Linked DNA regions of Homo sapiens: region 2 is linked to region 1. The links are contacts of gene promoters, found by promoter capture Hi-C in blood cells and fetal thymus (Javierre and others, 2016). All regions are on one chromosome and are shown on one strand. The core of a region is centred on a gene start or on the middle of the fragment in contact, and the rest is flanking DNA. Distances in the headings are between cores, read along the strand shown.

What was found. Contacts are between HindIII fragments. The CHiCAGO score rates a contact against its expected background, and 5 or more counts as called.
Region 2: a contact is called between the fragment with the promoter of ZNF547 here and the fragment with the promoter of ZNF836 in region 1, in 1 of 17 cell types (total CD4 T cells). The highest score is 6.9, in total CD4 T cells.

Annotation. Positions count from the first base shown.
Region 1 is chr19:52,170,297-52,172,910 of GRCh38, reverse strand. ZNF836 (zinc finger protein 836) reads left to right here and starts at 1,290. Exons shown (of 5, transcript NM_001102657.3): 1 at 1,290-1,575. RefSeq lists a silencer at 1,122-1,171 and an enhancer at 1,752-1,891. The HindIII fragment of the contact is 2,622 bases long and covers 1,040-2,614 here.
Region 2 is chr19:57,362,227-57,364,840 of GRCh38, reverse strand. It overlaps ZNF547 (zinc finger protein 547), which reads right to left and starts at 1,290. Exons shown (of 4, transcript NM_173631.4): 1 at 1,138-1,290. TRAPPC2B (trafficking protein particle complex subunit 2B) reads right to left here and starts at 1,290. Exons shown (of 2, transcript NM_001355204.2): 1 at 1,138-1,290; 2 at 1-26. The coding sequence starts at 7. RefSeq lists enhancers at 1,238-1,617, 1,658-1,737. The HindIII fragment of the contact is 1,910 bases long and covers 1-1,908 here.

The DNA of each region.
Region 1 (2,614 bases), core at 41-2,540:
TCTCATGACCTTGTGATCCGCCCGCCGCGGCCTCCCAAAGTGCTGGGATTATAGGCATGAGCCACCGCGCTTGGCCAACAATGATTTTTTAGGGACGTGATTCAGCTCATAACATTCTGTACTCTGGACTCCCAAAATTCATGTCCTTCTCACATGCAAGATCCCTTCACCCCCATCCTAACATCTCAAAAGTCTTATTATTATTATTTTTTGAGACAGAGTCTCACTCTGTTGCCCTGGCAGCAGTTCAGTGGTGCAAAGACAACTCATTGCAGCCTTGATCCCCTGGGCTCAAGAGATCCTCCCACCTCAGCCTCCCAAATAGCTGTGACTATAGGCGTGAGCCACCATGCCTGGCTAATTTTTGTATTTTTTGTAGAGACAAGGGTCTTACTATGTTGCCCCAGGTTGGTCTTGAATTCTTGAGCTCAAGCAATCCTTCCACCTTGGCCTCCCAAAGAGCTGGGATTACAGGCCAGAGCCACTGCTCCTGGCCCATTTCAAAAGTCTTAATCCATTTCAGTATCAAACTCTAAGGCCCAAATATTACCCAAATATTATCTGAATCACATATGGGTGAGACTCAAAGTGTGGTTCATCCTGAGGCAAAATTTCTGTCCAGCTGTGAAACTGTGAAGCCAAAGAAGCTATTTGCTTCCAAAATACAATGGTGGGACAGGCACAGGATAGACCGTCAGCCCTGGAAACCACCCTTCTACTCTGTTACTGTAATTTTGATGTTTGTAGATTGCACATGTAAGTAAGCACATGCAGGATTTGTCTTTCTGTGTCTAGCACATTTCGCTTAGCATAATGTCTTCAGGGTTCCTGGATCCAGCCACGGCTGCACATCAGATCTTCACGGAGATCCTAGTTCCCTGACTACTGAGTAACTTCAGCCTTAACTGGCTTCAGCCTCACTGGCAAGACCCGATGGAGTCCACCAGGCTCGCAAAAATCGATTTTGACTTAAATCAGTTCAACTTGACAAGAAGAAAACATCTTAGTTTCCAACAGAAGTGGACCACAACTTTAAGCTTTGACCTTAAAGTCTAAAACATTAACTTAAAATAGGCAGGAAGCAACGCTGCTTCACAGGACAAGAAATAGTCACAAATACTCCTAAATCGGGAGAACAAAGACTTGCTGGGTGGAAGGCAGAGCGAATAACAGGCCCCGCCCACCAAACAGGTCCCGCCCACACCGCCCGTCCCGCTTAGCCCACCTGGCCCCGCCCACTACCGCATCAGCCTTGCCCCACCCTTTCAGGGTTCCCAAATCTGGCCAGTCTTTCTGCCCTTTCCCTTGCGGGTCGCACCCCGCCCAGGCCCCTCTCCCGCCCCAGGTCTCTCAGTCTTTTTTCTCAGGGCGTGTAGCTTCCTGCACACCCGGAAGCAGATCGCGCGGGGAAAAGATCACAGCGCTGCGCGTCAGTTTCCGTCTACCTGGACTAAACATTTGCTTCGCCCCGTCTGCCTGAATCGAACGTGCACTTGGCAGTCTTCCCTTGTCCATACCCGTTTCCTGGGGATCGCTACGGACCTTAAAATACCAGCAACAGCCCCTTCGCCCCAAGTAAGTCTGATAATTGCTTCCCTTTCGGTTTAAAAATCTCTCTGAGGCTGTTCCTTGCTCCCTGCCTTTCTGCCTTAGGACCATGTAGACAACCCCACTCAGGTCGTGTTCCTGCTTAAAACCCTTACTGACCTCTGCTTCGGCCCTGCGCCAAGTCGAGTCCTCACTCGGGAGGTGGATTCCCGCCCGTTGCGACCCCGGAGCTTCTCCGTCGTCAGCCCCTGGAGGGGAGCGCCCGCCGTCCGGCTCCTGAAGGAGTCGCTTCTCCTCCCAGGTCCTGGGATTCTGCAGACCCTCCCTGTCCTGAGACACCGTACCCCCTGCCACCTTGTGTCCTCCTCACGCCGGGTCCTTTCGCTCCCCAGGCTTCCCCTTCACAGCCACTGCTTTTCTCGATCCCCCCCTTGGGGGAGGTCACCTGAGTCTTGTGACACCCAGTGTTCTTCCTTCCCAAATTTTACTCCACTGGAAAATATGCTTTTCCGGGAGGTGGGCATCCTATTCCTCCCCTTTCTTACTGAATGTGTGGGTGAGAGGGATCAGGAGAGGAAAAGAAGGGGAGCGACGGAGCAAAAGGAAAGACCGAATAGAAGAGAATGAGGGAGACCCATAAATACACGGCAAAATGGATGATAATTTAGGGATTTGCAAAGAGACAGCAAGAGTGAAAGAGAACGAATGGAGAAAGAAGCAGGGGGAGGAAAGCACACAGAGAAATTTAGAAAAAAAGGGGGACCTTCAGAGAGATGAAAGGCAGCAAAATAGAGTGGGGCGGCAAAGGAGGAGGCACTGCAGACAGACAGTGGGGAGAAGGTGAAAGAGTTGGAGCCGCAGCCGACAGAGCTACGTGGTGCTGGGACTGAAAGAGAGGGAGAGAGGGCAGTGGGTGACAAGCAGAGTAGAGGGAGAACCACAGCAGGGAGGAAGCCTAGGGAGTTGGGGGTGCTAGAGAGTGGGAACAAAGGAGGTGTAACAGGTAAGAGGGAATTTTAACAAGGAGAGCAGAGAGGGAGCTCAGATGGGGAAAAAGAGGCGGAAA
Region 2 (2,614 bases), core at 41-2,540, 5.2 Mb before region 1:
CAGACATGGTCTTCAATATATGGCTCCTGCAGCGGGAGGCCGACAACGGAAACGCAATGTCAGTTTCCGCGGAAGAGACCCGCGCTCCGCACCTTTTTTTGACACGGAATCTCGCTCTGTCGCCCAGGCTGGAGTGCAATGGCGCGATCTTGGCTCACTGCAATCTCCACCTCCTGGGTTCAGGCAATTCTCCTGCCTCAGCCTCCCGAATAGCTGGGATTACAGGCGCGCGTCACCACCCCCGGCTAATTTTTGTATTTTTACTAAAGACGGGGTTTCACCATGTTGGTCAGGCTGGTCTTGAACGCCTGACCTTGTGATCCGCTCGCCTTGGCCTCCCAAAGTGCTGGGATTACCGGCGTGAGCCACCACGCCCGGCCACCCTCTATTCTTTTGAAGAATCTACACCAGTTCTCCTCTGTAGACTCCACACCTTTCTGTCCCCCTACCCATGTGACATTTTCAACTTGAGACGCCTGAGAATCACACTGGCCAAACTCCAACCCATGATCTTCTCCATGAAACCTACTTCTCATGCTGCTGACTTCCCCAACTTCATTCTTTCAGATGTTCGGGCAAAAAAAAAAAAATGACCCTTCACTCCCTATTTTTGCTCACAGACATATCTGATACGGCAGGAAAACCTGTTGGCTCTATCTTCCAGGTCTATCCAGAATCCCATCACATTGTCCCTCTTATACCACGGCTCTGGTGCAGCCTCTGGGATCCACTGCAGTGGCCTCTTCTGGGTCTCTCTGTGTCAATTCCCCATCCTGCTCGTTCTAACTCTGGACCTGCCCCTCCCACTGGTCTTCCCTTGACAACCTTCCATGGTTATACCGGCTGCTCAGGCTGCCATTCCAAGAGAAAATTCACAAAACCCTCTCTTTCCCGCAGAAACAACCCACACTCCGGGCTCCCCGACGCGGCCCACTTGGCAGCACCTCCATGCTCTGAACCTGAGATCCCCGAAGGGAGCTCTGAGGCTGCATCAAACCAGCTGATACGGGGACCCCACACAGGAACGCCCCTCTCTTCGAGACAAGGGGCCTGACCTGCAGGGCCCCTTCTATGGGCTTCAGCACTGGAAGGAGGGGTCGGGCGGAGGTGGGGGGGGGCCTGGGACGGGGCACCCACCTCGGGTTCTTCGGCGGGGACTCCGCAAGTCCAGCCAGGGAAGAGAGGGGCGGGGGCGACAAAGGCAAGACAAGGACACCGCCGTCCCCAGTCCTTGTCAGCTGAGCTTCTGCCACTGTCAGTTGTGCCTGTGTCACTACCGCCTCTGCGTACAAGGAACCAAGCCGCTTCTCGCGCTTTTCCGCTCCGTCACTTCGGTGACGTCATAGAGCGCCAAAGGCCGGAACTAGTGAAAACACCAGAGAAAATCAAATCAACCACGGCAAGAGGACGCCGGAAGTCCCGCCCTCCTACGATGCGCGAGCACGAGGACGGACGCACGCACGCACGCACGCACGCAAAGGTTCCTTCCTGCACATTCATTGGGTCAGTCGCGCTGCCGAGAACCGCAGTGTCTTCTGGGTTATGAAGTTTCGACACCGCTTCTGGACTTGCCTTAGAGCGTTGGTCAGTCCTTATATGGCGGATAGAGGCTCAGTGGCACCGTCAGGGGAGCTGGTAAACAGAGTGCCGGACTCCACGGACAGGACGGGGCTTGGGTTGCTCTTAAAGGCGACATAACCAGATTTTCTTGAAGTAAGGTCTAGGATACTCACAGAAATGTGAGGGACCTATGATATCGGATTGTGAAGCACAGCAAGTTCTCAACGGCTACACCGCCAAAGGGACACACTATACCACAAAGGCACTCTGTCTCTACTCATGCCTCTCAGCCATATGTTGCTTTTCAAATACACATACAGTTAAACTTTGACTTCTATTTATTAAGCTTCAATATGGTTGGTCCAAGAGAACAAAGAAAGACTACATGGCTGGGAATTTGCACAAAAGAAGACAGGAGATACCGACGTAGATTGAAAGGGTGACGCTGTGCCTCTGGATCCAGAAGAAAACATCATTACTGTCTGTAGAGTCAGTGATTGTGTTCCTACCAAGAGTGCAATGCTTTTATTCTAATAATACTTATTACTTCATGTCTGAAATATTTTACATTTATTTTAAAAGTCTCAATCCTGTCTGAAAATGAGAGTGACTGATACATGCCATTTCCTGACAGGACATTTTGTGCCATTCCATAGTTGGAGTATATGTACACAGGGAACGTATTATCCCCAATAAAAACTGTGAACTTTCATGATCTTATCTCCTTCCTGAGAAGTGAGTTATCATTTTACAGGGAGTTGAAATTATCTGTGAAAATACTTGTGAAATGAAAATTACAGAAATCTATTAATAATAACTGTTAGGTTTTGAAGGGAAGGCGAGGGTTAAAGAAAGGCAGAGTTGGCAGCTCTACAGCAATGCAGGTTTTATGTCCAGCACGAGACCTGTGATGGGGAGAACTAGCTTAGTGCCAGAACCCCTCACTGCTTACAGGCTGGGGCAATTATAGGCCTGGATGAGAGGGGTCAGGGGTGGGGGGCAGGGGGCGCGGCGGGAGGGTATGACTTGCTGCCCAGGAGGATGGTGGGTTTTT